2 separate regions of the Homo sapiens genome follow, and region 2 is linked to region 1. Evidence: promoter capture Hi-C in human tissues and cell types (Jung and others, 2019). All regions are on one chromosome and are shown on one strand. The core of a region is centred on a gene start or on the middle of the fragment in contact, and the rest is flanking DNA. Distances in the headings are between cores, read along the strand shown.

What was found. The method cuts DNA at HindIII sites, captures the fragments that hold promoters and counts their contacts. A contact is called where the count stands out against the background at its distance.
Region 2: a fragment that was not itself captured here is called in contact with the fragment with the promoter of NR5A2 in region 1 in 1 of the 25 tissues and cell types used here (small bowel).

The regions. Positions count from the first base shown.
Region 1 is chr1:200,026,343-200,031,148 of GRCh38, reverse strand. NR5A2 (nuclear receptor subfamily 5 group A member 2) reads right to left here and starts at 3,439. Exons shown (of 8, transcript NM_205860.3): 1 at 3,238-3,439. The coding sequence starts at 3,301. RefSeq lists enhancers at 774-1,274, 1,275-1,775. The HindIII fragment of the contact is 6,457 bases long and covers 1-4,806 here.
Region 2 is chr1:200,155,490-200,160,789 of GRCh38, reverse strand. The region is part of intron 7 of NR5A2 (nuclear receptor subfamily 5 group A member 2); the gene reads right to left. Among named protein-coding and RNA genes, the nearest start is that of NR5A2, 130 kb to the right of the region's middle. The HindIII fragment of the contact is 3,052 bases long and covers 2,211-5,262 here.

The sequences.
Region 1 (4,806 bases), core at 2,190-4,689:
GGAGATGGACTCGGGCATGGAAAGAAGGGAGGCTCTAGAGTTTAGCTTCATAGAAGAAACTGGCAGCCTAAGCCCCAACTATGAGAATCAGAACATGGGCTTGTGTGGCTGGCATTCTAAATAAAGCTCGCTGGAGGTTAGGGTGACATAATGGCTATCACACTTTCCGCTGATGAAACGTCTACTTTCAGAGATCCTTATGAGCACAGAGCTTGCTGGAGGTTATCACTGAAATAAAATCAGACTCAGAGTGTTCAGGGGACCAGATAGCAAGACTCACATTACAGACTCAATACAGTGTTTGCACTGTGTATCATGTACCCCTAAGTATGCAGACATAACCTTCTGTGGATAATATGCAATATTATACTGAGTGCATAAAATATTCTGCAAATGCAGTTAATTTGAAGAATTATGGAAATTTAATATGAATCAAAGCATAATATTGGGCACTGTGGGAGTGGTCAATAAATATTTGTTTTATGTATAACATTTCCTACCACACAGATATGGCTCTTTTCTTGATATAGGTAAGTATAAAAAGCTTCTAAAGTTAGTACTGCATATTATTCAATAGAATCATCCCACTTGGGAGAAAGAAGTAAACCAAGACCAGAAACCAAGAGTCTGGCCAGTGTCCCAGAGTTAGTTAACTTTAAGGGAACAATCTAGTTATAACCTGAGTGTGCTGCTTTTACACTACAATGAATGATTATCTTGCAGGTAGGCAGAAGGAACAACTTTATCTTAATTCTGCTTTTCTATACAAGCACAGACATCTATACAAAACTTTCATGTAACCATCAGTGTGCATACAAGATGTAGCCCCTAGTTAAAAACCATGGAGACAGCTTTTTAAACAAAAGGAGGCTCATTTCCTAGTACAACACAACTGAATTAAATATAGAATTGTAAACCCTGACTGATGTCTACATACACCGGGCTCGGTTTTGTGAACCACTCAACACAGCCCAACTTGCAATTTGCCATCTGAAAGCTACCCTCGAGACCCTCAGACACTCTCTACAGCTGCACCCGTGGGTTCTTCCCAGTGGGGCTACCCTGGGCAATCAGAAAGACCCATTCAAGGGGCATCTCTCCCTCAGGAATCGGGTCAGGCCCTTCAATCCAATAGTTCAGTCCGAAGGCTCCTCACCGCCCTCTGTTCCTCTCCCTCAGCCCTTTGGATGGCTCCGTCCAGCCATTCACCCTGGGAACGACCGTTAGCACCCTCGTGGAGGCTACGAGGTAAACAGATTGTCTCCCGGTGCCACAGCCGCCTCAGGGTCACTAAGATGTTGCAGGTGCGGACACCTCACAACCACCTGCGGGGCTGCAATACCAGGAGGCGGAGGGGATGTGCTTGGGTTGGGAAGGGGCGGGTGGCTGCGAACAAGATCCTGAAAGAGGTCTCTTTTACCGGCAAATTGACTGGAATTTTGTTATCCCGGAATCCGGCGCCCGGAAGTGCCTGCACAGGTTTAGGATGTTGGGGTAGTCTCGCTGAGGCCAGGGGAGAGCCTTCTTCGGTACTTTTCTTGAGGTTTAGTCCCCAGCAGCCCCTTATGGGCTGGACCGACAGTCCTCCGGTTCCCAGCCCTCTGCGGTGGGACCGATTCCAGAGCTGCAGGTGTTCTCTGTTTACGCTCAGAGTGTACCGCCTCGGTCCCTTGCGATGTGAGTTGCGCGTGCGGTAGCTGGAAACACAGTTCTTCCAGGGTTGCAGAGAAAAGTGCAACAGCGTCTCTTTCCCCTACCTTACCCTCTTTAATTCACCCATGGGGTGTGGGGGAGACTGTGAGGGATCGGCGTGCGTGGTCTCCCGACCCAGCTCAACTCTATTTTGGCAGCGGCCAGCTGGGGCTGCGCGCAGCAGGAGCCCAAGACCGCCCGCGCGGGCGCGAGCCCCCGAGCGCGCGTCCCCCGTGCGCGCGCAGTCCGCGTCTCCGGCCCGAGCGCGCTCTAGCTGCGGCCCCGGACGCGGAACCGGAGCTGCGCGGAGCTGCCGGGAAGGACTCCTTGCCTGCGCACCGCGGCGGTTCTGCCCGACGAAAAAGATGCGAAATGGTTGTGTGCTGCTCTCTCATCTTTCTTGTGCCTGTATTTTCTGTGTTATCTGCAGAACAATTGATTGTGTGTTACACCCTGCTTACCTTCCCCATGTTTTCTTTTTCGTAAGTATAGAACATTTTTGGTAAACATTTCCTCAAGTGATATACTTTAGGGTGTAGTTGGCCCATAAAAAAAGCAATCTGTGACTCCACTGCATTCTGTGGAGTCAGCTGACTAGGAAGGAAAAAAGAGGAAAAACTCAAGCCTTGATTTTCTTTCTTGTTATAATGGAGCTGAGACTCAGAGAGCTCATGACAGGCCCCTGCAAATTCGGAGGGAAATTCCAGTCTGAAAGCCTAGGCAAATGCTGCCAGAAAAGGCACAGGTCCTTCAAAAACTGGGGAAAGGCAGAAGGGCCTGACTTCCAACAGACAAATAATTACAGATCACTGGGAATCACTTCCCTTCAGTCCTTTACTTTTAGAATTAATTGAATGTAGTCTTGCTATAAAATTCATAAGTTTGTAACTCTATTTTTTAAATGAATAGTAGCTTTATTTACTTATTTCTGTTTGTAAAAACAAAATATACTAATTGTTGCGAGAAACAGTAGCTCTTCAAATCCTTTACTAATGATGGTCTAGTTTTTTTGGTTTTTTTTTTTTTTTTTTGGAGGTGGGGGCATGACTTTCATTCCCCAGGAAAATAAAATGAAAATTTTTTACGGTATAAGCAGAGAATAAGACACCATACTTTTGTGTGGGTTGAAAAGTAACAAATACTTGACAGCTATCTGTTAAAGTTTGATCAATGATCACTCAATATGATTAACTTGTTTCAAATTGTTCAAATTTTAGCTTATTATTTCTGATTAAAAATTATCAGAAAATATTAAAGTTGAAATTGATAAAGTATAAATTATATTTTCTGGCTGATTAGGGTATTAGAATGACACCAGTAAACACTAGATATAATGAATAATATTCATATGTTGAAATATCCATTTGCTTTTTTTGAACTGCAAGAAAGATAAATGTGTGATATATATACATAGGCTTATTGTGTGCTTTTAATAAACATAATAGGAAAAGCCATGACTTAAAATGCAAAATCCATCAACAAGATTAAATTATATGTATGTAGTAGCAGAATAAATAGATGATCAATAGAGAAACTCCTACTTACCAATAGGTGTAAGTCCGTGCTTTAAAGACTCTTGTAAATCCCCAGTATCTGAATTAGAAGACATTCTTAGTGAAATTATAGGCAGTTCTTTGGCTTAAAGCAGAAATCATTGAGCAAAAGAAAAGTGCAGCTTGTCAAATTTCGTGGCCTTGGGAAGGACACATCAGACTACAGTAACCCTTAGTGAAAGTTAAGAAAAAGCAAAGGAAAAAAAAAAATCCAGAATTCATAAAGTTACAAGCAAGTCTTTCCCTGGACTCTGTACTTTTTCCAACATTAGTGACCTGCTGTAAACCATGTATCCAGTTTCATGATGGTTTCTAATCAGAAGAATGGAAACTTTTGATAGGCTTTGACTCATCACATGACTCTATGCAGGTTGATAAGAGGACCCTGTTATAAAGTGACAGCAAAAGAGATAAGAATTCTTGCCAGATAATGGCAAAGAAATGATTAACTCAGAAGTGGAGAGGTGCTATGCAGCACAGAGAGTGGAAAGTTGTAAAACTGAGGGGTCAGAAGATCAGACTTAGTGGATAAAAACTGCAAACCAGCTAACTAACTTAGGCTAACTAAACTTTGGCTTGTGACATACCCCTTGATGTCATCACCTCTTTGCATAGAGGAGGACAGACATAGCTCTTCTGACCTCTGTAAATACATTTTAGATGATAACATTGGCAGACATTAATTCTTTAAGTGATGACTACAAATGTGATCGACACTCTGAAATACTACAGGTAGCATTTCCAAGCTTATGGTTATTTATTTATTCATGTTGTGGTCAACCAACTTTTTTATCGGGCCTATTCATTAGATGAGGAGTTAACCTTAGCTTGTTTCTACATTGGTCATATGGCTAAAACACAATCTATCTCTTTATCCCCAAAAGGTAAAACTTATGCTTTGAGATTAATGCTGGCAAAATGGTGAATATGTAACACATTTTTCATAGTTATAAAGTTATTATTCTTAGGCTGGGCATGGTGGCTCACACCTGTAATCCCAGCACTTTGGGAAGCCAAGGCAGGCGGATCACCTGAGGTCAGGAGTTCGAGACCAGCCTGGCCAACATGGTGAAACCTCCATCTCTACTAAAAATGCAAAAATTAGCTGGGTGTGATGGTGCACTCCTGTAATCCCAGCTACTTGGGAGGCTGAGGCGGGAGAATTGCTTGAACCTGGGAGGCAGAGGTTGCAATGAGACGCTGTTGCACTTCTCTCTGCAACCCTGGAAGAACACAATCCAAGATCATGCCACCGCACTCCAGCCTGGGCAACAGAGTGAGACTCTGTCTTCAAAAACAACAATAACAACAAAATAACAATTTTTTTTTTTTGAGATGGGTTCTCGCTCTGTTGCCCAGGCTGGAGTGCAGTGGCACGATCTCGGCTCACTGCAGCTTCTGTCTCCCGGGTTCAAGCAATTCTCCCGCCTCAGCCTCCCCAGTAGCTGGGATTACAGGGGCACACCACCATGCCCGGCTAATTTTTGCATTTTTAGTCAAGACGGGGTTTCACCGTGTTGGCCAGGCTGGTCTCAAACTTGTGACCTCAAATGATCTACCC
Region 2 (5,300 bases), core at 2,487-4,986, 130 kb before region 1:
GATATATTAAGCCAAATTTAAGCTCCAGTTGTTGAATTTAGCCCATACTAGATGTCTGGTTTGCCTCGGGATAAATTCAGCTTTCCAGCTAATCGAATGAGGAAAACTGCCTCAGGTATGATAAAATTTACAAGAGAGCGCTGTGGAACAGTTCTTGTTAAAAATATTAGCTTAAAGGCATTCTTATCGTCTTTGGGATGAAGACTGTATTTGCATTTAATTATTTGATTTCAAACTTTTATGAACTTGGATCAAATATTAGCTTAGCCAATTAAAATATTATTTTGTGTGAGTGAGGCTAAGAGCCCGATTCAGCTCCACTTTCTCAGCTTTGGTAGTGCTCGACATGTTTCTTACTGACTTTTGGAGAGATTATTTCAAAGAGAATCTTTAAAAAGGTAAATTTGAGAATGTAATGTGCATTTAGTGGACAAGGTGCTATCTTCAGAATAAACCGTTGACTGGAAACACTTCTCCATGTCAGAGCATTAGACTAGAAGACAAAAGATGTAGTCTTCTAGATATTTCTACTCACACAATCAATACTCCTTCATAATTCAGCATTTTAAAGAAATCCTCTTCGTGTAAACTATTCATGATACTCCATGGACACAGTGCAGTTGGGATTGCTTGTAGCAGCTTCCTGTTTCTAGGCTTTGCTCCCTGCAGAAGGCAGGCTAGAGCCCATTGTTTTCTATCCCCTAGGTCTTAGAGGGTAGCAAGCGATACCAGCTCACGCAGAAAAGGGACATGGATGACAGTGAGGAGGGTGCCATGGGGAAAATAAGTTTACATGAAACTAAAGAGCAGCAGAACACTCTTAAAAAAATCTTCTCAGACCAGGCATGGTGGCTTATGCCTCTAATCCCAGCACTTTGGGAGGCTGAGGCGGGAGGATTACCTGAGGTCAGGAGTTCGAGACCAGCTTGGGCAACATGGTGAAACCCCGTCTTTACTAAAAATACAAAAATTAGCCGGGTGCTGGTGGCTCGCGCCTGTAATTCCAGCTACTTGGAAGGCTAGGGCATGAGAATCACTTAAACCTGGGAGGTGGAGGTTGCAGTGAGCCGAGATGGCACCATTGCACTCCAGCCTAGAGGACAGAGCGAGACTCTGTCTCAAAAATAATAATAATAATAATAATAATAAATAATTTAAAAAATCTTTTCAAAATGAAAATGTTGAACGAAAGCATTCAACAATCTCTACAAAATAACCAGTTTATTTGGTATAATGTATATTACTCAGCAGTTGACTGGGCAGGAAACTTCATAAAACGTTTGCTTGACCTTAGTGCTCAAGCACGAAGGCAAAGTTAGGTGAGGTCTCTACTGTCCCGTTATGCTCTCGCCCAACCCCAGTATCCCTGGGTGATGTGGCCCTGGGTGACATCTTTGCAATGAGTTGGTTTCATACCTCCTGTGGAGGGGTAGGATTAGATGTGAATGAAGGGAAACATCTGGAGAACCTCTGATTCCCTGGGCCTCAATTCTCATCTTGTTAATTTAAACAGAAATTGGAAACCAAGATATGACTATAATATATTTGTTGTTTGAAAGAACAAGTATTCATGATTTTAAAAGAATCAAATACATGGCCAGACACAGTAAGTGGCTCACACCCGTAATCCTAGCACTTTGGGAAGCTGAGGCAGGAGGATTGCTTCAGGCCAGGAGTTGGAGACCAGTCTGATATAGTGAGATCCCATTTTGACAAAAAATTTAAAAATTAAAAAAAAAAATAGCTGGGTGTGGTGGCATGCAGCTTCTCAGGAGTCTGAGGCGGGGGGATTGCTTAAGCCCAGGAGTTTGAGGTTGCAATGAACTGTGATCGGGCCATTCTAGCCTGGGTGACAGAGACCCTGTCCCTATTAGGAAAAAAAAAAAAAGAATCAAACATATTAAGGTCAGGTCAATACCAGAATGCAGAATAGGATAGGGAATTTTGCTTTCCTAACAGCAAGAAATACACTATATGGCAGCACCATGATGTTCTACAGTGTTGGCTGATGGTTCACTAGGTAAGACTCAGCAACTTGAACTCTATGCTACTTCGGAAATTGTATTTGGGTTTATTTTGGATAAGAAGTTTAAAGAATGCCTTTCTGTGGAGGTTGCAGAGAGCTGAGATCACGCCACTGCACTCCAGCCTGGGTGACATAGTGAGACTTTGTCTCAAAAAAGAATGCCTTCCTGTTTTAGCCTTTGAGTATGTAACTGATGAAAAATAAATTCTATCTAAAGTCAGCAACAGAATCAGAAATTCAAGGAATGAAGAGTATTATTAATGTATCACCAATTTTAACATCCAATTTTTAAATGTTGAAGATGTTTTAGAGGTATTTTATAAAATGCAGGCTAATTGTGAATTGTAATCTCTGAGAATAATACTTTATATTTATGTCATTCTTTGAATTTTTATTAAACCCCTTGCATCTACTTTATCTCACTCCCGCCAACACCTTTGGCAGGTCTGGTACTATCCTTTCTGAGACAGACACACAAAATAGATTAATTGGATTGGAAAAAAACTAGGTATTTGAATATTATAGCTGATGCTCCCAACTCCTTTTTAATTGTGCCCCACTGTGTTAACATGTTACTTTAATTAAGCATTAGACTGAGGTTACTAAAATTGCATTTCTTTAAGTACATATAAATTGAGCTTTTTGTTGCCAAGTTGAAATGTCCTGAATTAGTGAAGTTTATTGTACTTGGTACATTCTATTTGTGCTAAAAGTAATACATCACAATCAGTAAAATTCTTGCAATTTTATGCCCATATGAGAACTGTTACTATCTACATTCATTCTAAATATCCAATATTTTATGAGTTTGTAGAGTTAAATTAAAGCTACTCTTTAAGAGCTAGATATACTTGTTACTTATTATTACATCATTTCCCTTAGCTATTAAAATTCTGCTCAGTAAGATCAGAGGTTGAAATGAAGGGGGAAAAATCATGCAGTGGATCAACACTGATTCTGAATTATTTGCTTGAAAAATGAAAAGAGAGGGTCTCTGGAGTTGAGAACTATAAGGGAAGGGAAACTAGTTGCCTAACAAGATCATTAAAGCCAAATACTTATCCATTTTTGGACAAAACAAATTAATAATTCATTCAATTGCTCAGGGATATGTATTTGTATATGAAAGACAGAAAATCCATATTTCCAATTTGTTTTGTATTTGTGTAACCATGTGGCAGAGAAAATAACAAGAAAGATTATTCTAAGAACTTTTGGAGCTTGAAACATTTGCAAAAGAAGCTATCCTATTTTTTTTTCAGTGTAATGACAGATTTTGCTAAGACAGTGATAATAGTAAGATATCTTATTATCTGATCATATTGGTTTCGTAAGTGCTATGCTCAATTCTAAGGTTTGCATGGAAGGAAACTAAGACTATGTGGTGACCATTCCCTTTCACACCCAGAAATCATTAATTCAAGTGGGGAAAATTGTTTGGTTTTTGCAGATTAATTATAGTCAACTCCTGATTATTTAGCAGAATTATTGATACTTGCATTGAAGTGATTTTAAATCCGTGAACACTGCACTGGCCATAAGACATTGAAATTAGTAAATTGCTCTAAGTTTCAGTTTCCTAATCTTTTAAATGTGTTTTAATAGGAATTACCACAAGGTAGGACAGTGCCTGGCTTATAAAGTATCATCTGTTTCATCTTTCTGCAATGATGACTTAATTGAACAAGAAATATCTCTTCCACCTTTGAAGTCCACCCAGTGCTATTATAAGGAAAGGTCAGATATGATTTATCCCAAGCCTAATGTATCAGTCAGCATATACAGAGAGCGGCTCTGTTAAGATGTCGGCAATATAGATGCTCCAACTTACGATGGGGTTATGTCTCAATAAGCCCATCGTAAGTTGAAAATATTATCACAAATTCATTTACTACACCTAACCTTCTGAACATCATAGCTTAGCCTAGCCTGCCTTAAATGTGCTCAGAATACTTACATTAGCCCACAGTTGGACAAAATCATCTAACCAAAAACTTATTTTATAATAAAGTGTTGAGTATCTCATGTAATTTATTGAATACTGTACTGAAACTAAAAAACAGAATGGGCCAGGTGCGGTGGCTCACACCTGTAATCCCAGCACTTTGGGAGGCCGAGGCGGGTGGATCACGAGGTCAGGAGTTCAAGACCAGCCTGGTCAAGATGGTGAAACACCCTCTCTACTAAAAATACAAAAATTAGCCGGGTGTGGTGGGGGGGCACCTGTAATCCCAGCTACTTGGGAGGCTGAGGCAGGAGAATTGCTTGAACCCGGGAGGCAGAAGTTGCAGTGAGCAGAGATCACGCCACTGCACTCCAGCCTGGGTGACAGAGTGAGACTCCGTCTCAGAAAAACCAGAATGGTTGTATGGGTACTTGAAGTATGGTTTCTACTGGATGTGGATTGCTTTGCAGCATCGTGAAGTCAAAAAGTTGTTTCAGTAGTCATAATATTCTGAGTTGCTCTGACCTCTCCCCTGAGGGAGGATGCAGGTTTGCTGACGTTCCCACAACTGTGGGTGCCACTCCTATGCCCCCTACAGAAGCCCTCTTTGGAGTTTACCCTATAGAACTATTACTGTCTTATAGGGATTTTCAAAACTGAAGTGTTAAGGATGTAAAACAAAACCCTAGACTCTTCACATGACCCCCATGGTGGCTCAGTAAATATACCCACAGCAAGTTCAGAGGCAGCCCACGACCACTCATAGTTCTCTAAGTTTCAGTTGGTAATAAAGCTTTCATCTTGGGAAGTAGTGGATTTAAGTAACTGTTGAAAATTTGATTTTTGGGCCAGGCGCGGTGGCTCACCTCTGTAATCCCAGCACTTGGGGAGACTAAGCGGGTGGATCACTTGAGGTCAGGAGTTCGAGACCAGCCTGGCCAACATGGCGGAACCCCGTCTCTACTAAAAATACAAAAATTAGCTGGGCATGGTGGCTGGCACCTGCAATCCCAGCTACTTGGGAGGCTGAGGCAGGAGAATCGCTTGAACCCAAAAGGTGGAGGTTGCAGTGAGCCAAGATCGCACCATTGCACTCCAGCCTGGGTGACAGAGTGAGACTGTCCAAAAAAAAAAAAAATTTTTTTATTATTATCTGTGGATTCAGCATTGTCATTAATCCTCCATTAACAGAAGGAAATCAGGAATAGCTTTGTAAGTTCCAAAATAGTGAAATACATCACAAATAGCAAACTGGTAGTCGACCTGGCAGTGGCCAAAGCCAATGATGACTTTACAACATCTCACTTCTACATGAGGCTTTTTCAAGAT